Linked DNA regions of Homo sapiens: regions 2, 3 and 4 are each linked to region 1. The links are contacts of gene promoters, found by promoter capture Hi-C in blood cells and fetal thymus (Javierre and others, 2016). All regions are on one chromosome and are shown on one strand. Each heading gives the region's core, a stretch centred on a gene start or on the middle of the fragment in contact. The rest is flanking DNA. Distances are from core to core; before and after follow the strand shown. Region 1 holds the start of BLOC1S4 (biogenesis of lysosomal organelles complex 1 subunit 4). Region 2 overlaps KIAA0232. Region 3 overlaps MAN2B2 (mannosidase alpha class 2B member 2). Region 4 overlaps MRFAP1 (Morf4 family associated protein 1).

Region 1 (6,910 bases), core at 3,005-5,504:
GTGGGGGGACCAGTCTCTGCAGCCACCGCGGACCCCACACCCCACAGCCAGAGGGTCCTCGCATCCTTCCTGATGACCAAGTTCCCTCCCACGGGCTCACACCCGACCGCTGGAACCCTTGCTTCCCTTGGACCATGAACAGTATAGAGGAGACGCTCTCATTCTCCATTAGTGGGTCAAATGGTTTCAGTCACTTTGGGAAATGGTGGTTTGTGGTTTTTTTAATTAAATTAATTTTTTTTTTTTTGAGACAGGGTTTTGCTCTGTTACCCAGGTTGGAGGACAGTAGCGTGATCACAGCTCACTGCAGCCTTGAACTCCTGGGCTCAAGTGATCCTCCTGCCTCAGCCTCCTGAGTAGCTGGGACTACAAGGCACGAGCCACCGTGCCTGGCTAATTTTTGTATTTTTAGTAGAGCCGGGGTCTCACTATGTTGCCCAGGCTGGCCTCGAACTTCTGGCCTCCAGTGATCCTCTGGCCTAGGCCTCCCAAAGCCCTGGGAATACAGGCATGAGCCACTGTGCCTGAATCTGGATAACTTCTCAGCACATAAAAGGAGTCTTCTTAGAAGGATAGTTTTGTAAGTTCTGTATCAACATCCCAGGGCACGATTAGGAACAAAGCCCCATTGGAGCCCACGGGAATGTCTGTGTGGTGTTTGACTGAACCTTAGGTTGGACTCAACTGGATTGGGCGTCTGACTTTCTCACCCACTGGCCTGCCCAGCTCTTGGGAAAGAATCACATCTTGTTTTTCTTTGTGTCCTAGTCTTCCCATGGTGCTTGATTTCTGAGCCAGCCCTTAGTCTGACTGAATTCTCCTGTCTGCCTTTCTGTCTCGCATTCCTTATGGAGTGCCTACATTTTGTGTAGTCGTTCATTCACTCAGTCACTCTGACAATCGCTTATTGCACAGATATGTGAGTGTACCAGGGATGTGCTACCTGCTTGCTGAGCATGCAGCCAAGTGGATGCAGCTAACATCCACTTGTTACTCCAGGTGAGTAAGGCAGACAGTCATCAGATAATGACACAAACACATTTCACAAACTGTAACAAGCGCTATGAAGGGGACAGTTCATATGTCCCCTTTCCATATCCTCATATGAAAGATGCTATGGGGCATCTTTCGAGGTCAAGGGAAGGCTGCAGGGGAGTGAGCAAGGGGGCAGGAGCCACCTCAAGCCAGAGAACAGAAATTGGGCTTTATTCTAATATGAAGAGAAGCTAATGAGAGCTTTAGGCAAAGCCCAATATGTCTGATTTATGTTGTTTAAAGACCCCTTTGGCTGATGTGTTACATGCGGGAGTGGCTTGGAGCGGGGAAGGGGAAGCAGGAGACCACTTAAGAGGCTGTTGAGTGGCCCAGGAGAGATGCCAGTGGCTTGGATGGGTTGGGTAGCAGTGGGGATGGACAGAGCACTGGGAATATGCATTGTGGGAGTGCCAAGGTGGATAGGTGGATATTAGTTCTTTTTTCTTTTTTTTCAGACAGAGTCTTGCTCTGTCGCCCCGGCTGGAGTGCAGTGGCGTCATCTCCGCTCCGACTCCCGGGTTCACACCATTTTCCCGCCACAGCCTCCTGAGTAGCTGGGACCACAGGCGCCCACCACCATGCCTGGCTAATTTTTTTTTTTTTTTTTTGTATTTTTAGTAGACAGGGTTTCACCATGTTAGCCAGGATGGTCTCGATCTCCTGACCTTGTGATCCGCCTGCCTCAGCCTCTCAAAGTGCTTGTGAACTACCGCGCCCGGCCCCTAATTACTGCTTTTGAATGTTAACTTTAAGTGAAAAATCTTTTAGCAATGTTTTGTTATGTAAGGATATTTTCATATTCAGTGACTATGTCATCGAAACACATGAATTACTTATAGGGGTACCAGCAGTTGCTGAATATTAAATGTAGGTTACTTGTTCTTTCAGCTTCTACATTCAGAGTTCCTTAATTTGTCGTCAATGAACCACCTGAATAAAAAACGTAAATATGTGACAATGAAGGTCCACGAAAGCTAGGTGCAAGATTACATGATCAGATTCTTCACAACACACAGCTAAATGAAAATACAGCTACTCTATGAACCTCAAAGATCTTTGATGACACTGCAAATGACACAAAAGCAACCTAAGCTGTATGCTTTTTTAGCATCTACTATTTAGGAGGGCCACCTTATAAAATAGATTTGAATCTCAATAAAAGTCTACTGTATCCGCAGGAAAATCCTAATACCATTCACTCACACAAATAATTTAACTATCCATTTCGAGAGGAAAGAAATATACCATGCTCTGGACGGGCGCGGTGGCTCACGCCTGTAATCTCAGCACTTTGGGAGGCCGAGGCAGGTGGATCACGAGGTCAGGGGATCGAGACCATCCTGGCTAACACAGTGAAAACCCGTCTCTACTAAAAAAAAATACAAAATACAAAAAAAATTAGCCGGGCATGGTGGCAGGCGCCTGTAGTCCCAGCTACTCAGGAGGCTGAGGCAGGAGAATGGCGTGAACGCGGGAGGCGGAGCTTGCAGTGGGCCGAGATTGCGCCACTGCACTCCAGCCTGGGCGACAGAGCATGACTCCGTCTCAAAAAAAAAAAAAAAAAAAAAAAAGAAAAGAAATATACCATGCTCTGAAATAGAAGCTACAGCTTTTCACATTAGCTCTCTAAAGGAGGTATACTCAAGCCCCTTTTCTTTATCCCACTACTAAAAAAGCACATGAGCAGTACGTCTATTTCAAACACACACAAGGAAATACGTAAAGCTCTTTTCAGAAGGAAATCATTTCCAATAAAACTCAAAATTTCTATTAACATTTAAATTATAAACCAAACATTGGCAACCCACATATATATATACACACACACACACATATGTTTGCTATGGACAAATGAAGACTGTGAGGTCATACTTTCAAATACAACTTTGGAATTAGTCACAAAAAATCAACATATATTCTCAGAAATTGTACCATTTCCTTTGGTCTACAATCCACGCTATAGGAGGTTTAATATAATATTAAATAATGTACCATTTACCCTAAAAGTAGGTTCTAGAAAACTGACTATTAGGATTGAATAACAAGGCTTTAATGGCTCAATTTTCTTATGATTATACAAACATATAAATCTTGAAAAGGTAACGCCATTTAGTAAAATCCATAAAAATAACAGTTTTGCCACAGTGCAGAGAAAAGTTCATTCAGTTTGATTCCCCATGCCCTCGACAAGCAGCTTTCTGATTAGAGCTGGAAGACACAGGCTGGGTGCAGTGGCGACCCCGTAGTCCCAGCTACTGGGGAGGCTGAGGTGGAAGGATCACTTGAGCCCAGGAGTTTCCGAACAGTCTGGGCAACATACCAAGACCCTGTCTCTTTTTTTAAACTTGGAAGACATAAAGTCTATACATTCTACACTGAATCATGAATATACTACGGAGAGTTTGTAGAAAGTAAACTTTAAAATCCCACACTCCAACATCATATATGTCCATAAGCAGGATTTGCAATTCACTTCATACTGGAGGTAAGCACCCCAGCTGGGGTCCTCTTGCCGCAGTGGTCAGGCCGTCAGAGCTGAGGCCTTTCACTGCAACAAGGGAAGTAGTCTTCGGTCCGAAACAGGACGGGGGCTTCGTAGCCGGCTTGCTGTGGCCTCGAGGGAGCAGACTTGCTAAAGAGCGAGGGCACGTTCATCGTGTGCAGGAGCTTCTTGAACGCCCTGGGGAAGGTGCCCAGCTCGGCCTCGGCCTTGGTGACCTGCTCCTCCATCCTGGCCACGCGGCCCCCCACCATCCTCACGAAGGCCTCCAGCCGGTCGATCCTGCTGTAGATGCGCCGCATCTCGGCGGCCTTCGCGTGGATGCGCGGCACGCCCTCGCTGACGACGTGGGACGAGTCGCCGCGAAGCATGTCCAGCATGCCCACGAACTCGTCCACTCTGGTAAGCAGGTCCTCTAGGCTCGCGTCCAGGGCCTCGACCTCGGGCCGCGCCCCGGCCCCGGGCAGCAGGCAGGCGGCGTAGCCCGCAGCGGCGCGGCGAAGCAGCGGCAGGTCGCGGCCCGGCGCGCCGTCCTCCGCGCCCTCGTCCTCCCACGGCCCCGAGGCGCTGCTGTGGCTCTGGGAAACAGTGCCACTGTCCCCGCTCCAGGCGGCGCCCTGCGGCTCGGCCTCTTCCGCGAGCCCCTCCGGCAGCGCTCCGCCATCCGAAAAGCTACCCTCCATGGCCCGCGACCACCCGACTGCGCAGCGCTCGCTTCCGGCCTCCGCGCGCTCACGCTCACGCACCCGCACACGCACGCACGCGCGCTCACGCCTTTGCTTCCGGCGGCCTGCGAGGGCGTCTGTTCACGCGCATCCACCTTTGTTTCCGGCCTCCCAGCGCGCTCACGCTCACGCATGCGCGCTCACGCTCACGCATGCGCGCTGCTGTTTTCTCACGCCCGAACTCACATTCAACCTTTTTTTTCTTTTTTAAGCGAAGGTATAGCAGGAATACAATACAGTGCATACATTTTAAGTGTGCACATTGATGACTTTGTACACATCCATACAACCATGCATCTTCTATCCAGACCAACAGGTAGGACATGTCCAGCACCCATGAACGTCTCCCTCCTGTCCTTCATTTCTTTTTGCTGTTTATAGTAAAATAAATGAGATAAGCAAGACGAAACACAAAAGGGATGGACCTTGACGACTTTGGATGATTTTTAAAGTCCTCAGCTTCGCCTGATTGCAAATGGCGTAAAACTAAGAAATAGTAATAGTTTCCAAGCAAATATCAAATCCAGGGTACTGCCAGAAAAAAACAAAGGTGAAGTTGAGATGTGACGGTTAAATCCTTTAAAATCTCAAAAAAAAAAGCAAAGACGGTGCCTGAGAATACCATTCAGTTAGACTAACAGCTCCTTAAAGAGATTAATGGTGTGGCTCACAGAGTCCATCAGTCAAACCACAAGGCCTCCAGAAGGCTTAAGGCTTGTTCGTCAGTATTAGCAGAAGCCCAAGATAGAGATGGACTTATCTCAAAGGGATTTGTAGGTAGCACTTTTGTTTAACGGAGTGAACCCCGATGAGATTCACAGGAGACCTATAAAGTTTTTTAAAGATAATTATATTGACACAAACATTGCAGATTGGACTGAAAGGAACAGGCCTTTGGATCCCCTCTCCCCAAACTTGTACAAGCAGGAATCAGACTGAGAAAAAGACTCATTGGCAAACACATGCCACATTTCACAAAAAAGGAAGTATAACTCAGGGCATGAAACCAGGAGCCCAGATGGTGGAACTGGGAGTCATGGAGTCCTAGACCTTGAGACTGGATGGCAGAGTTACTGTGGGCTGGCAACTTGTTTGTACTTCCAATTTCCCCCTTTTTGAACAGGAGTGGCAGTGGCTAATCTAGTCGTAGTGGAGCAGAACAGGTCTGTAGTGATTATCCTGTGCCAGCCCCACAACTGTATATTCCAGGCATGGGGGCAGAGAACTTGTCTCCTTAGTTTCAAAAGTCTACAGATCAAGAAGAATTGTACTCTAGGAGCTGAATTTAAGGAACTAAGCTCAGAAAGCCTCATCTACATCTGATCTTATTGAGAAGACAAAATTCTGGACTTAAAGCTGATGTGACAATAGGATAGTAATACCTAAAACTACATGAGATTTAAAAAAATGTAACTTTTGGGGACCTTGGATAGAGGGGAGTGTGGTTAGCACGTTAAAATGGCATGAAGAATTGGTAGTCAGGGGGCAAACTGTGATTGCTAGCCAGCCTTCAAGATGACTCCCAGTGATTTCTTACTCCTGGTATTCTCACTCTTGTGTATTCCCTCTTGTCGAGTATGTACTGGACTTAGTGACTTCATTTGCTCATAATAAACTGAAAAACACAGAAGTGATGATGTATGATTTGGACATTAGTTCATGAAAGGTAGTGTGGCATCTCTTTCCTTCCAACCTGCGAAAGGAAGATAAATCTTGGGGTCCTACAATTACTAAGCTAAAAGAAAAGTCAAGTTGGAAACTGCTTAGGGCAAACCTGCCTCACATTCTATTCACAGTCACTTCTCCGCTCACTGAGATAAATGCGTATCTGATTGCCACCTTTGGAGAGGCTAATCAGAGACTCAAAATGTCTGGGCGCGGTGGCTTACGCCTGTAATCCCAGCACTTTGGGAGGCTGAGGTGGGTGGATCATTTGAGATCACGAGTACAAGACCAGCCTGGCCAACATGGTGAAACCCTCTTTTAAAAATACAAAAATTAGCCGGTTGTGGTCGTACACACCTGTAATCCCAGCTACTTGGGAGACTGAGGCAGAAGAATTGCTTGGACCTGGGAGGCGCAGGTTGCAGTGAGCCGAGATCACGCCACTGCTCTCCAGCCTGGGCGACAGGGTGAGACTCCATCTCAAAATAAATAAATAAATAAATAAATAAAATTTTAAAAGAAAGAAAGAAAAAAAGAAACTCAATAGAATGCAACCATTTTTCTCTCATCTACCCAAGACCTGGAAGCCCCCTCCCCGCTTCAAGTTGTCCTGCCTTTGCTTTGAGTTGTCTCACCTTTCCGGACCAATCCATCGTTCATCTTAGATATGTTGATCGATGTCTCATGTCTCCCTAAAATGTATAAAACCAAGCTGTGCTCTGACCACCTTGGACACATGTCATCAGGACCTCCTGAGGCTGTGTCACGGGCACACATCCTCAACCTCGGCAAAATAAACTTTCTAAATGAACTGAGACCTGTCTCAGATATTGGGGGTTCACAAACCACTTGCTCTGGGGAAACCAGCTGCCTTGTTGTGAGCAGCTCCATGGAGAAGCCCATATAGCAAAGAACTGAGACCAACAGCTAGGGAAAAACAGCCTCTTTCCAACAACTACATGAGTAAGTCATCCTGGAAGGGGAT
Region 2 (6,910 bases), core at 3,200-5,699, 110 kb before region 1:
CTCTGAAATGCTGATTTGAAATAAGAGAATAAAAATAGGAAGTGTTGTTTAAATGCAAATAACAATGCTTGTGATGTAGAAGGTTATTTAATTAAAGTCTGTTGAATGTTTGTTGAAATACAGTGTATGCAGTGACACACACGAGGAGCGCTTTATGGTCAGACTTTTACAGTTCCTATTGTTAAAGATTCTAATAAACTGTAACAGGAAACACCGCAGATGCTAGCTTTTCAAGAAGCGTAATGCTGAACGGGACACGCTACAGGAGTATGTTACAAATAGGCTGAAGGAGCAAATAAGGTCTGTTGAATGAAGAAGGGATGAGTCTCACCTAGCACTCAGGACTGGGATTATTATTTATACAACCTGTGGGCAAATACAGATAATGTAATAATCCAGTTACATTTCTAGAAGGATGGACTCTGAGCTAGTAGATACAATTTGATTAGGGGATTTAAAACAAGCAACAGTAACTTCTCTGCAGGGCAGGCCCCAGTGTGTGATTATGGGGTCTACACCCACTCCTAGCATGCTTCCCTCCTACACACAAGTCACAGACCTGAGAAAGAAACATGTGGCTATCCATTTGTCTAATACGTATCTGAGCCTCTTGTATATTCCAGGAACTGTTTTAAGGGCTGGGAATCCAACAGAAAACATAGCAGAAAAGGTCCCCAACTCTGGCTGGGCGTGGTGGTTCACTTCTGTAATCCCAGCACTTTGGGAGGCCAAGGCAGGCAGATCACTTGAGGTCAGGAGCTCGAGACCAGCCTGGCCCACATGGTGAAACCCCATCTCTACTAAAAATACAAAAATTAGCCAGGTGTGGTGGTGGGCGCCTGTAATGCCAGCTACTCGGGTGGCTGAGGCAGGAGAATCGCTTGAACCTGGGAGGTGGAGGTTGCAGTGAGCCGAGATCACGCCACTACACTCCAGCCTAGGCAACACAGCAAGAGTCCCTCTCCAAAAAAAAAAAAAAAGGCCCCAACTTCATGAATTACATATGCCAGTAGGGGAGACATAATTAAATCACAAGTAATCATATAATTTCAGGTAATAAAAAATGTCATGAAGAAAAATAAATTAGGTAAGAGGGCTGAGAATGGGAGGCTTCTATTTTAAATACAGTGGGTCAGGGAAAGACTGAGGATAAGACAAAATATATATCAAAACCAAACTATGCCATTAAACAAATAAATACTCTCTTTTAAAAAGTAATTGGTGGCAGCACAACTCTCTTGCCTAGATTAACTAGAAAAGCCAATAACGACACAAAGACAAACCAAACCTACATCACCTTCTGCAGGGCATCAGAGCCCTGCTGAGGTGCCAGGCATTGAGAAGACAGTGAGTGCCAAGGGAAAGGTAGGTGTGGGCATAGGGCACTGACATCTGCAGCTGCTTCCTTCCTGGGGAAATATGCTGACCTAGGTCCGGGACAAGAGGCTGAGAAAAAGGTGGCCCTTTGAAGAGGCAAAGAAAGCAGCAGAACTTGGAGTGAACTCTTAGGGCCAGAGGGAGAACACCTGAGATACAGATGCCAAGGTCCAAGCAAGAGGAAGGGGTTGGAAGCAGAGGGCACTCTGCTGGCCTCCCCTCTGAGCATGTGAGGAACTCTAAAGCTGTGTGGGACACGAGGGGGGCTTCTGGGTTGCCAGTAATCTTCCATTTCTGTGTGTGGCTATAGTTACAGGGATATGATCTTTGTGAAAATTCATCAAGTTGTACATTTTTCTGTATGCATTTTATGCCTCAATAAAAAGTTTAGGGAAAAAAACCTCTTATTCTTGTACAGAATCCATGGTTGTTCTCTATATGGAACAGTTAGTAAAGTTCTGGGAGTCCTAAGATCTAAAAAAAGAAATCTAACCATCCAACACCACCTAAAGCCATCACTCAGATGGAGGGGCCATCACGAAAGGATACTTTTGGAGGTGGTCTGCAAAGAAAAAACTTCTAGAAAAAGACAACAAAATCGGCCAGGTGTGGTGGCTCACGCCTGTAATCCCAGCGCTTTGGGAGGCCGAGGCGGGCGGATCACGAGGTCAAGACTTCGAGACCAGCCTGACCAACATAGTGAAACCCTGTCTCCACTAAAAATACAAAAATTAGCTGGGCGTGGTGGCGCGCACCTGTAATCCCAGCTACTTGGGAGGCTGGGGCAGGAGAATCGCTTGAACCTGGGAGGTGGAGGTTGCAGTGAGCCGAGGTCGCACCACTGCATTCCAGCCTGGGCGACAGGGCGAGACTCCGTCTCAAAAAAATAATAAATAAATAAATTTTAAAAAATAAAAAATAAAAAAAAAGAGAAAGAAAGCACTACTTTGTACAAAGGTAGTTAGACAGGACTTTTTTGGGGTGGTTCAGCACCCTACTTACTCATTCCATATTTCCCTTGGAGAATCATCCTCTCCAATTCTTAGTCCTTGTGGTTCCAGGTGCTTGTACCCTAGCCACCCAAGTCTTGTCACTGCAGTGATCAGGTCAGGAACAGTTCCATAGCAAAGATGACCTATTAGGATGAGAAGCCTGCTCTTTCTGCTGGACACACATACACAAAAAAGGGTGTAAGTCTGAGCTTACAGCGGGCAGGGTAGGGGTGAAGCTTGAGAATAAAGAAAACAGGCCGGGCATGGCAGCTCACACCTATAATCCCAGCACTTTGGGAGGCCAAGGTGGGTGGATCACTTGAGGCCAGGAGTTCGAGACCAGCCTGGCCAACATGGTGAAACCCTGTGTCTACTAAAAATATAAAAATTACCCAGGCATGGTAATGCACGCCTGTAATCTAGCTACTCAGGAGCCTAAGGCAGGAGAATCACTTGAACCCAGGAGGCAGAGGCTGCAGTGAGCTGAGATCGCCCCTGCACTCTAGCCTGGGCAACACAGTGAGTGCTCCATCTCAAAAAAAAAAAAAAAAAAAAAAAGACAACAGAGAAGGCAAGCTAAAAGACGGGGCACTGATTTTACTGTAGGCCCTGGATCAAGTTGCCACTGGGGTCAGCCCTAATTCCCAGATATTTCAAGTTTTTTAAACCAGTAAATGCTCCAAAATTTACTAGCTGTGTGGCCTTGGGCAAGCTATTTAACCACTGTCACTATCTCCACTTATGAAATACAAATAATAACAGGATGGTGTAAGGAAGATTAAATGAGTTACCGTGAATGGAAAATGAGTGCCTTCAACAGTGGCTGGCACACAGCACATGATACATATGTGTTTGCTTTTACTATTACTTCTGTTTAAGCCAGATTGAGCTGGGTTTTCTGTTATCATCACAGACTCCTAATAAGAATAATAAACAAAGAATGCATTATGCTGAGAACATCAATGTATAACAAGAAAAGTTTTAATAAACTCTCAATGGTAGTTTAATTAGCTATAAAGGAAACGAAAGCATATTTGGGGTTATAAGAACAATACTGAAACACACCCTCATCTGCTAGTGCATCCCTTCCCACCTGTGACAGATCATGGGGAGACCTACTGTCAACTATCAGTCTAGCACAACTTCTGGGCAGGAAAAGTTAACTCCCATTTTAAGTTATAATGTTACTGAAGTTCTCCTTTTAGTCATTTTTTGAGTAAGACTGTAAAATGTTTTAAACTAATGTAACAAATGTGTTGTAAGATGTACAGGATCTAAGCTTAATGTTCCAGGTCACCAGTCAATGCACACTGCCATGCCATTCACTTTCAGGCTGTGGGAGCTTAATACTTACTTTCGAGGTTTGGCTTGCAGACTGAATAAGGCAATCCTTACATATTAAGTGGCTGGTGCTGCATCTTACATGCTGTGATGTTCCTTATGTGACCAGGCTACTGATTTTTAAAAGATGGAAGGCACTGTAGTAAAATGTCAACTACTAAATGTAGAGGGGATCACTGAGTTAGGAAAATCACCACTTTTCAACCACCCAACTAATAACTGATTCAGGCAAGGAACATCAATGGATGGTAAAAGTATCAAAGTCTCCCTGCACAGATCGCTTATTCATTACAAGGAGAAACCTGGCAGACACCATCTGAACCATGATAAACCAAGTCAGCGTCTCCAAGAATGATAAAGACTGTCGTCACTGGCCCTCTAATGTGATATGCAGAAAAAAAGAAAACATCATTATGCAATGCTACTACCATAAATGCACAAGCCAACTCTAAAGATACGAGGAAATATCCGAAAAACCCAAATTAAGGGATGTTTTGCAAAACTGGCCTGGACTCTCCAAAAGTGTCCATGTCATGAGATGCCAGGGAAAAACAAGGAATTATTACAGATGAAAGGAGATTAAGGAGATGTGGCCATTAAAGTCGATGCATAATCTCAAACTAGATACTAGATGAGGGAGAAAACTGCAATGAGAAACAATATCGGGACAGGTGACAAAAACTGAATATTGACTGTATATCTGACAATAAAGTTTCATCAATGCTAATTTTCCTGAATTTTGTAATTGTAATATGACTAAGGGAAAGTCTTTGATCTTAAAAAGTACATGCTAGTTTACTCAGAGAGGTCAGCATGAAGAGAAGACAGAAATAAAGCAAAAGTAGAAGATGAAGAAAAGTGGGCTAAAGGGTACAAACATACACGTAAACAACGAGTCACTTCGAGTATTCAACAGTATGGTAGGGAGACTACAGCTAATAATATTTATTGTATATTTCAAAATAGCGAGAAAAGAATTGGACTATTTCCAACACAAAGAAAAGATAAATGTTTAAGGAGACAGGTAACTCAAATACCCTGATTTGATAACATCTTATATTCATGTATCAAAAATCATAATACCCACAAATATGTACAACTATTATATATCAATAAAAGAAAGCAAATGTGTGAAAATACTAACAATTGATGACTGAAGAAAACATGAGAGCTCCCTGTACTATCCTAGCTGTTAGTGAGGTCTGAAATTATTTCATTTTAAAAAGTTAAATTTATTTATTTTTTAAGAGACAGGGTCTCGCTGTGTTTCCAAGGCTGGAGTGCAGCGTCATGATCGCTGCTCACTGCAGCCTCCACCCCCCAGGCTCAAGCGATCCTCCTACCTCAGCTTCCCAAGTTGCTGGGACTACAGGTAAACCCCACTGCATCCAGATAATTTTTTTTAAGAGATGGAGTCTCACTATGTTGCCCAGGCTGGTTAAACTTTTTTAAAAAAGATTAATATATGATTTCTGCCCATAAGGATGTTATAACCTACTGAGAAACAGAATACATTCCAGTAACGATAATGAAAAGCTTTACAGTAAAATATTACCAAGTTTGGTAGAAGACATTGCTTTCATCAGAAATTATCAGAAAAAGTTTCAGAGACAGAGGTGACCTACGCTTTGAAAGATGGGTGAGAAAAGCAGTTTATATAAAATAAAAGTGATATGTAGTGATTTCCTGATTATCTTAGAATATACTTCCCAGACAGAGTAATCATGACCAAAAAAAAAAGAAAGAAGAAACATTTATGGAAATAAAACTACTGGCACAGTGACCGTATCTCCATATTACAAGGCAGTGGTTCTCTGGAACTACATTGTAACCAGCCCACCACCACAAATGTGTTTATAACCCTGCCCAAATTAGAGGTTTATAGATGATTCAGCCTTAAACAAGACTAGGATCTGATCAGCTTTACTTCCTTATCCTGCACAACTGAGACCAAACTGATGCATAAAATCTGTTTTAGAACTCAAGAGCACTGCGTGTTTGCTTTAGCCTAAAACAGAAAAGTGATGGGTCTTCAAACTGGCCGCTCATGGCTAGACTAACTCAAGGACTAAGGGGTGAGCGAAGATGTGAGGAAATGAACACCCAGGAGTACAGTGGTTTGGCCTCCACTCGAGGGGCTGCGTTATCACAGGCATGAGCCAGAGATCAGGAAAGGTGGCACACATCTTCACCCAGGTCTGTCAGCCTTGCTGTTAGCTGGAGTTCTGATGACAGAAGCTAAGGCCCCTTCCACTCTCCTTACTCTTGCTAGAAGAGAACCATCCTTGTCTTCCGCATCCTCTCTGCCTGGGGAAACCGTAAGTACATCCTCCCTTTGAGTCAGGCATCTGGCTTTTGCCACCTTTAACAAGGGACTGTAACTTCACGGAAAAGCAATGCAGGGGATAAAGGATTCTCAAGTCATGTCTTACTAAAACAGGTATTTAAAATTTGACCTTCTTCATTGGCGTGGGACTTGGCACACATGGCTGTTACTTTGGACCAAGTAGAAAAATATTTTAGGGCCTTTTATTTCCCTACGGATTCTCCTTGTAACTCCAGACATGTTATGTTTTCCCTAACCTTTATCTGTCCTGTGTCCTGAGGAACGAACCGGAACTCTGGAGGGAGGATCAAACACAGCTGCAGATACTGATAGTTCATCTTATCTCTGACCACAACCCCCTAGAGTTAGTAAAGAAACCAGAGGATTCACAAGTCTGATCAGAGATGTTATTACTATAATCTTATTAACATCTGGCCTGTTTTATCCTATATGTCCTGTAGCACCCAGCACATACTTTGTGCTAGTAAATTTATTGGTGTTGATTAAATATTGTAGACTGAAAATAGCTGACATACAACTCTTAAGAAATGAGAAGTTCAAGTCCTACTAAAAAACTATTCTTTCCAGCCTAGGCAACAGAAAGAGACATAGTTTTTTAAAAATTAGCTGGGTGGGGTGCCACACACATGTGGTTCCAGCTACTCAGGAGACAGAGGCAGGAAGATCGCTTGAGCCCAGGAGGTTAAGACTGCAGTGAGCTATGATCACGCCACTGCACTCCAGCCTGGGCAAAAGAGCAAGACCCTGTCTCCAAAAAAAAAAAAAAAAAAATCATTCCCTATGAGTACATGCTTACAATAAAGTACATAATTTTTGAATGATGAGAAATATTTTCCTCATTTCTGGAAATTAA
Region 3 (6,910 bases), core at 3,208-5,707, 98 kb after region 1:
GACTCTGTCTCGGGAAAAAAAAAAAAAAGTTTTAAAATTGAGATATAATTCACAGACCATAAAATTCATCTTCCAAAGTTTTTAATTCATTGGTTTCTAGTATATTCACAAAGTTGTGCAACCATCATTCCACAATTTCATCATCTTCCAAAGAAAGCCCGTCCCTGTTAGCTGTCATGCCTCTTCTCTCTTCCTCCAGTACCTGGCAACCACCAATGTGCTTTGTCTCTGATACACAGATTTGCCTATTCTGGACATTTCACATAAACTCGTGATTGGCTTCTTTCACTTAGCGTAATATTTGTAGGATTCACTCAGGCTGTGGCATGCGTCAGAATTTCCTTCCTTTTTATGGCCAAATAATATTCCATTGTATGGACAGAACACACTTCATGTCTTAATTCATCTGTGGATGGACATTTGGGTTGTTGCTACCGTTTGACTTTTGAGTAATGCTGCTATGAACGCGGGAGCACAGGTATTGTGTGGATGGATGTTTTCAATTCTCTTGGGCATAGACCTGGGAAGGTTATACTTTTATTGATATTAATAGTTCTGATATTGGACATCCCTGCTGTGTGGTTTCACCTCTCATGGACTCTGACGGCTGCTGTGCCTTCTCTGCTCGGCAGGCGGTGCCCTGAGGCACAGGTGGGCGTCTGGGGCTGGAACTCTCGCTAGGCGCTACAACTTCCTCTCCTGCCCTGTGGCAGAGCCAAGCCCCTTGCAGGGCTGTTGCCAGCATGGGATGAGTCTATGAAAACACGTGGCACGCAGTAGGTCCACAGTTACCACTGGCAGCCTGGCAAGCCTGGCAGGGCCCGGACGGCAGATGCGCTTCGGTGCTGCTGTGAGTCTTGTGCTCTGCCTTAGGCAGAAAGTCCTGGGTTTGTGTTTTGTGAATGAATGACGCATGAGTGTGCCAAATATCCTTTACGTGACAGAAGAGGAGAGGGCTGGCTTGATTGAGTGTGGGGGGGAAGAACCTGGATCTTGTAATGTAATTTTTGTTTAAAAAAATTAGGGAAAAACCCCAAATATGACCATTTCCTGCCATTAGCCTGCAGATGAGCAGCTGACTCCCCAGTCCCATCCCTCCGCACTGCTTTTCCCTGTCCTGGGTCTGTTCTGTTACATGGAGTTCCTGGGGGAAGCCCTGGGGCCGGGGCATCTGCCCAGGGCTCACTGCTGTTGAAAGTGAATAAAGAACGTCCGGATTTCCTTTGGGTGGACGGTGATGATGGGGCCTCCTGGTGGCCTCGAGGGAGAGGTGGTGTCACCTAGGGGAACAGAGGTGATCTGTCCAGTGTGGCCTGGGATGCCTCCTCCCAGCCTCCCTCTCACCCCCTGCACCTGTCTACAGTCTGCTGTGGCTCCCAGCCTCCCTCTCACCCTCCTGCACCTGTCTACAATCTGCTGTGGCTCCCAGCCTCCTTCTCACCACACTGCACCTGGCTACAGTCTGCTGTGGCTCCCACCGTGGCAACGGCCTATGGCATCCCCTTCTGCCAGGACTCCTGTGGGCCTCTTGGCGTTTCTGCCCACCCTGAGGGCAATTCATAGGTTGGTCCTGGCCCTAGTGGCCTCAATTCCTCATGGGTGTTGCCCTCAAAGCCCAAGAGCTTTCTGAGACCATCTGGTGAGTCTGCCCTTGCCTCACCAGGCTCCCCTGAAGGCATGCCCTGGGGTTGGGCTTCGATCTTGGGAGGGAGCCGTCCACTTATCTATCACTCATCCATCTTCCTTCCTTCTTTCCAACCAACATCATCTTCCCTCCCTCCCTCCCTCCGTCCCTTCCTTCCTCCCACCACCAACTGAGCGTGCACCATGCACCCGCCACCATGCTGTGTGTAGTGGACAACGAGCTGCACAGGACAGAAGAAACCCCTGGGGCCAGGAGAGTGGAGGAGGCACTTGGCCTGGTTGGTGACTCTGGGGAGGCATCCTGGGGAGCTTGAGCAGGTGCTGGCCAGAGTGAATGGGACCTGTGCGTCCCAGGCAGAGGGCATGGTGCGGACAGGGAGTGGAGCCTGGAAGCTGCCTGTAGTGCAGGAGCTCACGGTGGCACATGTCGTATGAGGCAGGGACCGGCTGATGGGCTGAGGTCAGCAGGGCCAAGGTGGGCAGAAGCCCCTGGGCCCCTAGCTGTCACCCAGGGCACAGGCAGGGCGTGTGGTCTGCGTGTGCACACGTACAAGTGCACACACACGCCTGTGTGGAGCCCTGGCAGGCAGAGACTAACCCAAAGCCTTTCTTAACCGACTGTAGTAGATTTGGGAGGGCTGCGGGTTCAGAGTAGGAAAGCAGCCTCGCAAGGTCGCACAGGCCGGGACAGGCAGATGGTTGGATGTGCACCGGGTCTGACCAGCTGCTGAGCCTGGCTGGGAGTCCTGGGTAGGGAGCTGAAGCGGGGGTCCCCAAACCTCTGTGGCGGCCAGGCCCCGTCCTCCAGCTCCAGCGGTGCAGCATGCTCAAATCCCAGGTCCCTGTGAGCGAGCGCTCCTCCACTGCCACCACGGACCCCAGCGCCTGCAGCACAGCCTGCAGGGAGAGGAGCAGAGGGAGAGTGAGCTGCACCAAGTTCCAGAGCTGAGCAGAGAACCAAGACAGCAGCAGGGCAGACACACCACGAACTCGGTGTCCTCAGGAGCCCAGGTCCTCCCCTGGTGCCTGACACAGCTCCCTCATCTGCTTCTCACAGCACATCTGCGAGGACAGGACTGGCCGTGTACTTTACAGATGAGGACACTGAAGCGGGAGGTGCATGCTTTACCAGGTGGCCGAGCTGGAGGAGCAGCCCGGGAGGTGTGGCATTTTGAGCTGCCCACCCCACCGCGGAGTTCTCCTCTCCCCACATTGCTCAGGTGGCCCCGTGCCCAGTCCAGGGAGGAAGCCAGCCACAGTTACCCCATCCCCCTTTCCCAATAGGCCTTGTCCCAGCCTCCCTTACACCTAGGGGAGGCAGGAGGCCCTTAGGGGTCTGGAAAAGTCTGTGGAGCAGGAGGGCTGGGGGTGGCTCTTGGAGAAGCTTCTGTGTGCTGACGGAGGGAGAGAGCCACGCTAGGGCAAGGCCTTTCTGGCCACTACTGCTGAGCCCTACCCTGCCTTGAAATTTGCTCATGAGGGAGGCCTGTGCCATCTTGTGACCGCAAACAAGCAGACGGCAAAAGACAAAAGCCAGTCTGCCGGCGATGGCGGGAAGATGACAGTGATCGGGCCCACGGTGACAGCGCTTGGGGTCCATCGGACATGCCTGTTCGGTGAGAAAACACTCTGTCCTCTGTTCTAAGCACATCTGTTAGGTGTTTTGTGACTTGCAGCCAAACTCACTGCGTTCCTAACTCAATGGTCTTTCCACCCCACCACCGTCCACGTTGGGCAGGGAGTCATGGTGTCCATCCCAACCGTCTCCTTGTCTCAGGGCCTTGGTGCTTCCATCTGTGAAACGGGGGAGCATCAGATGACCAACTTCCAGGTCCCACGCTGGCCTCCTTGCTTCCCAGGGCAGGCTGGCCCTGTGCTGGGCACTGGTACCCGCCATGGCCTAGACCTGCTCTCAGGCAGGCCAGGGACCGTGAGGAAAGGATCCTCCGTGGCGAGGATCATGAAAGAGGAGGTGGGTGGCCCAGTAAGACATCATGGCGAAAAGGTACTGGGGCTTCTCTGGATTCCCCTGAAGACTCAGATGTCGAAGGAGGCCCAAGGCAGAAACACAGAGATTCACAGAAATTCTCCATGAGCAGGAAATGAAATAGAAAGAATGCAAACTGGGAAAGAAATGAGGCGGCTCAGGTCATGCCTTCTGGGGAGGGAGCGTGGGCAGGCCAGGTGGCGGAAGCCTCGCCTGATAGTAGAGCTGAGAGGGCAACATCAGCCAAGAGGGGAACCTGGAAGGGGACGAGGCCTGGGGGCCCTGACACTGCACGAGGCCCCTTAGTGCCAGGGCCTCTCAGCAACCTTCTGGGCAAAGAACTCTCACCTCTCCCCATTTTACATGGGGGGAAACTGAGGCCCAGAGGCATGGGGTGCCGGAGATGCCCCCGTAGAGGGGCCTGGGTGTGGACCCTGGATTGTCTGACTCTAAGTCACCTTTCAAAGCAACTCTATGGGGAATCTGTTTTGTTTTTGGATTACACAGATGTTGTCTGTGTTTTAAAAGTTTTACCACAGAATAAATAAGAAAGAAAATACAGGCCACTCACGCCTGTAATCCCAGCACTTCAGGAGGCTAAGACAGGCAGATTGCTTGAGGCCAGACGTTCGAGACCAGCCTGAGCAACACAGCAAGACCGTGTCTCTACTAAAAATAAAAAAACTAGGCCAGGCTTGGTGGCTCACGCCTGTAATCCCAGCACTTTGCGAGGCCGAGGCAGGTGGATCACCTGAAGTCAGGGGTTCGTGACCAGCCTGACCAACATGGAGAAACCCTGTCTCTACTAAAAGTACAAAAAAATTAGCCGGGCGTGGTGGCACATGCCTGTAATCCCAGCTACTCGGGAGGCTGAGGCAGGAGAATCACTTGAACCTGGGAGATGGAGGTTGCAGCCAGCTGAGAGCGCACCATTGCACTCCAGCCTGGGGGACGAGAGCGAAACTCGGTCTCAAAAAAAAAAAAAAAAACTTAGCCATCGTGGTGGCGCGCCCCTGTGATCCCAGTTACTTGGGAGGTTGAGGTGGGAGGATCACTTGAGCCAGGGAGGCAGAGGTTGCAGTGAGCTGAGATTGTGCCACTGCACCCCAGACTGGGCAACAGAGTGAGATCCTGTCTCACATATACACAAAAAACCCTAAAAAACCAGGCCAGTTGTAATACCTGACAAACCCAGAAGACCATGAAGAAGGGCGGGGTGGGGCCCATACCAGCGTCCATTTGGGAGGAAGCCCTCGTGGATCTCTTTGCCAAGGCAGTTTCTTGGGGCTTCATCTAGGGTTTGCTTCCCTGGCTTATGGTCTGGATGGGGGTGGGGAAGTTCACCTCCAGATTCACTGTCACTGGCTGAGACAGGACTGGGTCCTCGCCCACTTCATATAGGTGGTAGAGCCGCAGCAGGACACGGCGGAGGTCAGCCTGGGCTTCCCCTCGATGGCCTTTGGGGACAGAAGGAAGGTGGCAGTGAAGACCCTCATCAACCAACCCCAATGTCCCTGGTCTATACCCGCTGCTTTACACACTCAGCTCCATTTCCTATCTGTAACCTCCTCGATATGGTTTGGCTGTGTCCCCAACCAAATCTCATCGTGAATTGTAGCTCCCATAATGTCCACATGTTGTGGGAGGGACCTGGTGGGAGGTAATTGAATCATGGGGGTGAGTCTTTCCTGTGCTGTTCTTGTGATAGTGAATAAGTCTCATGAGACCTGATGATTTTGTAAAGGGCAGTTCCCCTGCACACGCTCTCTTGCCTGCCACCATGTAAGACGTGACTTTGCTCCTCATTTGCCTTCTGCCATGATTGTGAGGCCTCCCTATCCAGGTGGAACTGTGAGTCCATTAAACCTTTTTTCTTCATAAACTACCCAGTCTCGGGTATGTCTTTATGAGCAGCATGAGAACAGACTAATAGACTCCATGTGAGACAGCTGACATGGCCCCCACTCGACAAGGAAACCAAGGCTCAGAGAGGGGCAGTCACGTGCCCAAGGCATACAGCTGGTGCGCGGCAGAGGGAGGATTCCCACCCAGGTCTGGCCGACTGTAAGGCTGCCCACCATGACACCAGCTGCAATGTTTCCATCCTCGTCCACTGTTGTGGGCATATTGGGGCATGTCCTCAAATACTCCAGTCTCTCCTACCCTGCCCCCTTTGAAGTCAGGGGAGGCTGCGTGGCCTCTGTGGCCAATGCAAAGTGAGCTGAAGTGACGCAGTACTTCCCGGCAGAAGCTTTTTCTTGCCATGGTGAGTGAGGAAGCACGTGCTGCAATACAAACTCCATCAGCGGGGGGCGTGGTGGCCACAGCAAGAAAAACCTTCCTGCTAACCCCACTGGATGCACAGCATGGGGGAGAAATGAATATATACTGTTAAGACCGTGGGCATTCGGGGCTCTTTGTTACTGCAGCATACGCCAGCCACCCTGACTGATATAATGCTGTCATTTGCCACATGATGTATGTGATCTCCTGTCCCATCCCTGATCTTCCCACTCAGAAAGGCTCATTGCCATTGCTCCCGTTTTACAGATGGGAAGACCGAGGCTCAGAGGAAAGCACTGAGTTCAAGGTCCTGGAGAGAGGACCTGGTTAACACAGGTGCTTCCTAAACCCTGGCTGGTAGAACCTCAGCTCTGCAGCTATGCCTCAAAGCTGACTAAATCAATCTGTCTGGGATTAGAATTGAGGCATCAGTATTAAAAAAAAAATTTTGGCAGGGTGTGGTGGCTCACACCTGTAATCGCAGCACTTTGGGAGGCCAAGGAGGGCGGATTGCCTGCTGTCAGGAGTTTGAGACCAGCCTGGTCAGCACAGTGAAACCCTGTCTCTATTAAAAATACAAAAATTAGCTGGGCATGGTGGTGGGCACCTGTAATCCCAGCTACTCGGGAGGCTGAGGTAGGAGAATTGCTTGAACCTGGGTGGTGGAGGTTGCAGTGAGCCAAGATCACACCACTGCACTCCAGCCTGGGCAACAGATTGAGACTCTGTCTCAAAGAAAAAAAAAATTTTTTTAGAGACAGGGTCTTGCTCTGTTGCCCAGGCTGGAGTGCTGTAGCATGATTACAGCTCACTGCAGCCTTGAACTCCTGGCCTCAAGTGATCCTTTCACCTCAGCCTCCTGAGTAGCTGGGACCACAGGCAAGCATCACCACACCCGCCTAATTTTTTAATTTTTTTTTGTAGAGACAGAGTCTAGCTATGTTGCCCAGGCTGGTCTCGAACTCCTGGCCTGAAGTGATCCTGCTACCTCGGCCT
Region 4 (6,910 bases), core at 3,651-6,150, 72 kb after region 1:
TCCACATGATAAAAAGGAATTTGAAAAGATTAAAAAAATATGTCCACAATCTTCTTGCTACTCATCTCTTCAGTAGGTGGAGCATAATTCTTCTCTCCTGGAGTATGGGCTGGCTTGCTTCTAACACACAGAATAGGGAGGAAAAGGGAGGAATGGGAAATACATGGTGCCTATGGCCTTTGGGGATCATCAAAGGTCTTGCTCTCTAGCAGAAACTATTTTGCCTCCTTCCCTCTAGGTCCCTGGCTTTTGCCTCAGGGAGACTTTATTATCTATTATCTTCTCAGGCCTTGTATGAAATGTGCCTCAGAGGTTGCCCCCTCCAGGGGCTTTGCAGTTTCTGAAGCCTTCTTCATGCTGGTGCAGGTGCTGGGGCTCAGCACTTCCTTCAGGGGCTGAACAACCCCAAGTTTTAGCAGACTCACCTTGGAATTTCTTTGGCCATATATTTCCTTCAAAACCTTCGGATGACTTTGGGAGACTGAGGCAGGAGGATTGCTTGAGCCCAGGAGTCTGAGACCAGCCTGGGCAACGTAGGGAAACCGTATCTCTCTAAAAAATAAAAATAAAAAAATTAGCCAGGTGAGGTGGTACATGCCTGTGGTCCCAGCTACTGGAGAGGCTGAGGCAGGAGGATCGCTTGAGCCTGGGTGGTTAAGGCTGCAGTGAGCTGTGATCAGACCACTGCACTCCAGCTTGGGCAAAGCAAGACCCCATGTCTCAAAAAAACAAAAGGAAAACAAGAAATAAAAACACAAACAAGGGGGCCGGGCGCGGTGGTTCATGCCTGTAATCCCAGCACTTTGGGAGGCCGAGGCAGGCGGATCACGAGGTCAGGAGATCAAGACCATCTTGGCTAACATGGTGAAACCCCTTCTCTACTAAAATTACAAAAAATTAGCCGGGCGTGGTGGCGGCTGCCTGTAGTCCCAGCTACTCGGGAGGCTGAGGCAGGAGAACGGTGTGAACCCGGGAGGCAGAGCTTGCAGTGAGCCGAGATCATGCCACTGCACTCCAGCCTGGGCGACAATGCGAGACTCCATCTCAAAAAAAAAAAACAAACAAAAAAAACACCACAAACAAGACCCGCTCAGATGCTTCCTGCCTGTTTGCTGTCAGCCAGCCCCAATGTGCAGGCAGCCACAGCCCAAATCTTGTGAAGATGCCGGCATTTTCCTCACTGCGCTCTGTCCTTCCCCTGCTTTCCCAGTGGTGTCCCTGTGGAGCCAGTGTCCTTGACAGGAAGGTGACAGTCATCAGCTGGTGTTTGCCCACGTGACTGGCACTCACTTTCTGAGGAAGGACCTTTACTGAAGATGCTTGAGAAAGGTTTGGGGCCTCAGTCTCATTTCCCTGTAAGATGGCTTCTTTTGGAGCCATCTCCCGTAACTCTTTGGGTTTGGGATGCAGAACCCCTTTCCTGTGAGGCCCCAAATGACCAGCAGTGGTGCCTCTCCAAGCTCATTCATAGAAGCTACTGCAGGAAGCACAGTTGAGTGACAGTCTCCAACTGCCACATCTTTGCCTCCATAGCGATCACACCAAGGCCATGCCTGTCCTCCCTCAAAGAGACTAAATTCAGGACTAAACTTACTAGCCTGTCACTGCTGTTTCTCCCATTGATGAACCAAGGAGAACTCAGCCTAGGACAAGTTTCCAGTGATGTTCTCCACTCCTCTTCACCCCCAAACCTGTTCCTGGGCCTCCAGCATGTGCCTGACTTCTTGGAGGAGCTCTGCCCTCCCCCGACCTTACCCCTGAGAATAGTGCTATTTCATCCTCAGGCCTGTGAGGGAAAAGCCACTCATTTCTATATGTCCCTCGTGTGTCAATCAGAATTTGGGGGCAGTGTTCTCCCAGGCCATGTCCACACTCTACTTCTCCTCCCTCTTGTCCAAAATGGTGCTCCTTGGGAGCACTCCCTGGTCATCTGACTGTCCTCTCCCTCTTCTCACCTCTGTCATCCTCCAATCTCTTTTCACCCCATTGGAGTCCCGTCATTCACTGCAAACTTGGGCACCTGGCTCCTGGCCTTCCCCTCCACCCCAAGCCCTGCCATCGTCCTGAGCGAATTCCATGCTCACACAGCCACCAGCCCCACACCTGGGCCCTCATATCCAAGGAGCTCCTCCACCCTGCTTGGCCATTCACTCCCAAGAGTGACTTGGGGCTTGTTATTGTCTCAGACCTGGCCTACTTAATATCTCTGTGCCTCATTGATAAGACGAGACTAATTTTAATAATGGCATCTGCCCCACTGAGGGGTCGTGAAAGGCTTTTGAGGAATTGTAGGTAACTGGCACATAGTAAATGCTTCACAGGTGTTAAAACAAGAATTGATCTGAGGCCCCAGAAGCACGTAGCTCGCAGGATGTCATCCACAGATACATTTTATTTGACAATCAGAGTTTTTAATATGATAAATTGCTTTCCAATATCAGCCCTCCTATTTTCTGGCCACATCCCATCCTCCAGGTGACACTTTCACTGTAGTCACTAACATGCTGGGATCTCCATTCACTTTACCAGCTACTTTCGCCTATTGCTCTCCTGCTCTTCACCTCCATACTTCCCCACTCAGAGTACATCATGTATTGTTGCAGTGATGTCCTTGTCAAAACCCTAAGCTCTTTTTTTCTTTTTTCACTCCTCTCTGGCAAAAATGCAGTCCTGATGAACGCAGTATCTGCCCCAGGCAGTGGGCAAGTGCTGTAAGGAACCATCACCAACAAGGCTACAGGGAAGCCCAGGGCTTGGGGAAAATCTAGTTTCAGCTGTTAAGAGTTGGTAAAGAAATGTTCTTTGAAGAGGCAAAGAATAATATGGATTAATTTGGGAATAATGGAATGCAGGATTTTGTGAACCATGGTATAGAGTTTGAAGGAGGAAGCAATGGGGATATAAACCAGTAAATAGGTACCACAGAACATTATGGAAATCAGAGACGGGGAAAAGAGAATTGACTCAGAGAGGGTCTAACATATGCTGGGCTGTGTATTAGTCTGTTCTCATGCTGCTATGAAGAAATACCCGAGACTGATAATTTATAAAGGAAAGAGGTTTAATTGACTCCCAGTTCCACATGGCTGGGGAGGCCTCAGGAAACTTACAATCATGGCAGAAGGGGAAGCAAACCTGTCCTTCTTCGTATGGCGGCAGGAAGGAGAAGTGCAGAGCAAAGGGGAAAAAGCCCCTTGTAAAACCATCAGATCTCGTGGAAACTCACTATCACAAGAACAGTATGGGGGTAACCACCCCATGATTCAGTGACCTCCCACCGGGTCACTCCCAGGACAAGATGAGATTTGGGTGGGGACACAGCCAAACCATATCAGGCAGTGACTGAAGCAGGCACTGGATGGATTTTGTAGATTTACCTGGCCACAGTGTTAACCAGGGTAATAAATCCCCATTTATCTCTGGAAGATGGTAGAAACTCAAGCCACTCCATGTTTACCTGCTGCCTGGAAGGGGGAGAATGGCCAGGAGTAGGAGTTTGAACTAGCGCTTTCTTTCACCTTGAAGTCATTAGAAGGCAGAGGAAAGTCAAGAGCTCCACGTGAAAGCCAGAGACAGAAGATAACCTGTTGGACAATGCCTGGGCTAGTGGGAGGGATGTGATCAACGGGCCTCAGGTAGAAGGGAGAACAACCCTTTCATCAAAACACAAGGAATGGAAGAAATAATGAATATCTGTATCAGTCATCTTAGTCTAAGTTGTTATTGTAACAAACAATCCCCAAATCTCAGTGGCTTAAAACAACTAAGGTTTTTCCTTGTTTGTGGTATATACTCATCATAGATTGGTAGGGAACTGTGGTCATTAAGCTCAGCCACCATCTGGAATGTTGCTGGTTCCTGTGCCAGAGGGAAGAGACAGCTCTGCAGGGTGTTGCTTTGGAGGTTCTGGGTTGGATGCAACAGATGTAAGTTTCCTTTGTAGCTCATCGGCCAGAATTAATCACGTGGGCCCACCCAACCCCAAGGGGGCCAGAAAGTGCCATCTTACTCTGTGCCTAGAAGGCAGAGAATTGGAATTTATTTGGTGAACAGCACTAATGACTTCTACATTTTAACCCAGAAAAGCTTCATTGCTCTCTGAGGTTATTTCCAGCTCTGCCATCCTGTAATACCAGGACTTTGGGAGGCCAAGGCAGGTGGATCACTTGAGGCCAGGAATTCAAGACCAGCCTGGCCAACATAGTGAAACCCTGTCTCTACTAAAAATGCCAAAATTAGCAGGGCATGGTGGCACCCACATGTAACCCCAGCTACGCGGGAGGCTGAGGCAGGAGAATTGCTTGAGCCCTGGGAGGCAGAAGTTGCAGTGAGCCAAGATCATGCCACTACACTCCAGCCTGGGCAACAGAGTTAGACCCTGTCTCAATAAATAAATAAACAAATAAATAAATATGGCAACTCCAGCCAGAAAATTTAATGACTGTACAGCCACGTAAGACTGTCTCTCAGAATGCTTCTTACCACATTCTTTGCTTAGAAAATGCAAGATTGGATTGCTCCTCCAATTGCTAGCAAGCCAGGAGTATGAAATTCAGGAGCTGGGGCAATTGGGAATTAGTGGCTGCATTGCAGTTGTGACCAGAATCATAAAAAAGAGGAACTAAGGAGTTACTGGAAAGATTTTAGGACAATAGTTTTCAAACTCTGGCATAAGAATGAACACTATGCAGCCTTAAAAAAAAAAAGAATGCAGATTTAGATGTTAGATAGGAAAAGACTTCCAAGTAAACAAATGAAGGACACGAACAGATTATACAGTGTGCTACCATTAATGTAAAAAACAAAACAAAACAAACAGGTGGCCTGGGCGCAGTGGCTCATGCCTGTATTGCTAGCACTTTGGGAGGCCAAGGTGGGTGGATGGCTTGAGCTCAGGAATTTGAGACCAAAATGGCCAAGATGGCAAACAACTGTCTACAAAAAATACAAAAATTAACCGCGGTGGTGTTCCAGTTACTCAGGAGGCTAAGGTGATCACTTGAGCCCAAGAGTTCAAGACCAGCCTGGACAAATAGCGAAACCCCACCTCCACAAAAAAAAAAAAAAAAAAATACAAAAATTAGCCAGAAATGGTGGTGTATGCCTGGTCCCAGCTACCAGGGAGGCTGAGGTGGGAGGATCACCTGACACCAGGAAGTCAAGGCTGCAGTGAGTGGTCACAACACTGCATTCCAGCCTGTGAGACACAGAGACCCTGTCTCACCAAAAACAAAAAAAAGTGGAAGCCGTTCAAACACATTAGTATTTGTAAGGATGTATAAGAAACTTCTAGTTTCCTGAGAGGGGAACTGGGAAGCTGGGGAGAGATGAAGGATCACTTTCGTGTCATTTATAAATCTTACTCATTGAAAACAATCGACTTCCCGATGCAATGTAGTATCCCAGAACAGAAAAAGGGCCTTAGTGGGGAAACTGGTGAAAGCAGAGAAAAGTCTAGTTGGTAGTGTTGTACCAATGTTACATTTCTTGTTTTGGCAAATGTACGAAATGTAGTTTTCGTGGTTGTTTCCCAGTTCATAATTCTGTCCTATACATTTCTTCTCCCTCCTCTGTGTGGAACTCACACAGAAAACCTTGAACATCTTCCATTGTTTCCTGTGCCTAGCATGCCTCTCCTGCTCTTCCTGACCTCGGAAGCTGTGCTCCTCTTTCAAGGCCAAGCTCTGAAAGAGTTACTTGCTCTGGAAAGCTTTCCTAGACCTCCCCCTCAAGTGTTCTCCTGGGACATTCTATCTTTATTAGTGCTAGGGACACATGGCTTTGTTTGATTTCTACCAACTAGGTTGCCCAGAAAGTGGACTCCAAGATGAAAACTAGATGCACGTTTTTTAGGGATTAACACTTGTGGAAGAGGAGGAATGCAAGGCTGGGACGGGGGAGGAGGTGGGCTGCGTGATGTAATCCTAACAAAAGCCTCAGCAGACCCCACAAGCTCAGAAGCCACCATGTCCCTCAAAGTTGTCCCAAATTGGGGTAAGAGAAATAGCGACCTGAGATTTCCAGCCCATTACTCACTAGATGTAGGCTACCCAGGGAAAAGGGCATGACTTTGGCTAACGCAGCTCTCCTCTGAAAAGGCACTGCCCAGAGGGCTAACCAGCTGAAGGGTGTTTGTCAGCAACACTTCTAGCAGCTGAGGCAGAAAGGCTTCAATCTGGAAGGAGGGTGGGGTATCACATCTCCTCTATGTCATCCCTCACCCTGCAACTGTAATCGCTATATTCCCAGTGCAAGGCCTAGAAAACAATGTTCCAATTGGAAAGACTGAAGGTGCTTTGGCTCTCTGAAGGCAGAGGCCTGGACCACAGGATTACATGTGGTTTCTTCCCACACTAAGAACCAAGTGTGTTTCTTCCTCACCCGGTTCCCAACAGCAGAGAGAGAAAGCTTCCCTTTGATTAGAGACTAAGAGCCTCAGAAACCGTTAAGATGTTCACCCTCCATTTGACAGTGAGAACCATCTGGGAGACAGCAGATTTCATTCTTAAAGGACTAACATTTCTCAATAACCTTTTAGGTCTTTCGTCTTTTCAAGCAAATGAATACTTTTATTAACATGGTAAGTTTTTGTTTGTTTTAACATGGTAGGGTTCTGACCTCAAATATTTGTTAGGTCTGCTACTCAAATGAACTTACAGCTGGACAACGTATGAACCTTGAAGATGCCTCTTCTAGTCCAGTTTAGGGTCCAATGCAGACAGTTCCATACTGTCATCCCCAAGCCCCTCAAGGGCCTTTGCCAATCTTTCATTTTATGCCAAGTCCTCTAAAACGCATCAGGGTATTACATCAACTTGTACAGAATATCAAGATCTTATCTTCTATTTTAGGTTCCATGTCAAATAAAGCTGAGTTAGGTTGTCCAAACAAACTCACCAGACAGGTTACA

What was found. The method cuts DNA at HindIII sites, captures the fragments that hold promoters and counts their contacts. A CHiCAGO score of 5 or more calls a contact.
Region 2: a contact is called between a fragment that was not itself captured here and the fragment with the promoter of BLOC1S4 in region 1, in 1 of 17 cell types (erythroblasts). The highest score is 5.8, in erythroblasts.
Region 3: a contact is called between a fragment that was not itself captured here and the fragment with the promoter of BLOC1S4 in region 1, in 1 of 17 cell types (neutrophils). The highest score is 5.6, in neutrophils.
Region 4: a fragment that was not itself captured here is called in contact with the fragment with the promoter of BLOC1S4 in region 1 in 11 of 17 cell types (naive CD8 T cells, non-activated CD4 T cells, fetal thymus and 8 more); the score reaches 13.7 in naive CD8 T cells.

What each region holds. Positions count from the first base shown.
Region 1 is chr4:6,713,518-6,720,427 of GRCh38, reverse strand. BLOC1S4 (biogenesis of lysosomal organelles complex 1 subunit 4) reads right to left here and starts at 4,254. Exons shown (of 1, transcript NM_018366.3): 1 at 2,764-4,254. The coding sequence starts at 4,218. The coding sequence ends at 3,565. LOC105378240 (a long non-coding RNA gene) reads right to left here. Exons shown (of 3, transcript XR_001741568.3): 2 at 6,561-6,617; 3 at 6,283-6,404. RefSeq lists enhancers at 3,213-3,852, 4,335-4,534 and a silencer at 4,005-4,054. The HindIII fragment of the contact is 17,705 bases long and covers 1-6,910 here.
Region 2 is chr4:6,826,421-6,833,330 of GRCh38, reverse strand. The region is part of intron 3 of KIAA0232; the gene reads right to left. Among named protein-coding and RNA genes, the nearest start is that of KIAA0232, 47 kb to the right of the region's middle. The HindIII fragment of the contact is 1,598 bases long and covers 3,651-5,248 here.
Region 3 is chr4:6,615,558-6,622,467 of GRCh38, reverse strand. It overlaps MAN2B2 (mannosidase alpha class 2B member 2), which reads right to left. Exons shown (of 19, transcript NM_015274.3): 17 at 4,976-5,088; 18 at 2,424-2,541; 19 at 1-1,280. The coding sequence ends at 1,183. Among named protein-coding and RNA genes, the nearest start is that of MRFAP1, 22 kb to the left of the region's middle. RefSeq lists a silencer at 1-18. The HindIII fragment of the contact is 2,854 bases long and covers 3,031-5,884 here.
Region 4 is chr4:6,642,368-6,649,277 of GRCh38, reverse strand. It overlaps MRFAP1 (Morf4 family associated protein 1), which reads right to left. Exons shown (of 2, transcript NM_033296.3): 2 at 6,549-6,910. Among named protein-coding and RNA genes, the nearest start is that of MRFAP1, 5.1 kb to the right of the region's middle. The HindIII fragment of the contact is 1,624 bases long and covers 4,089-5,712 here.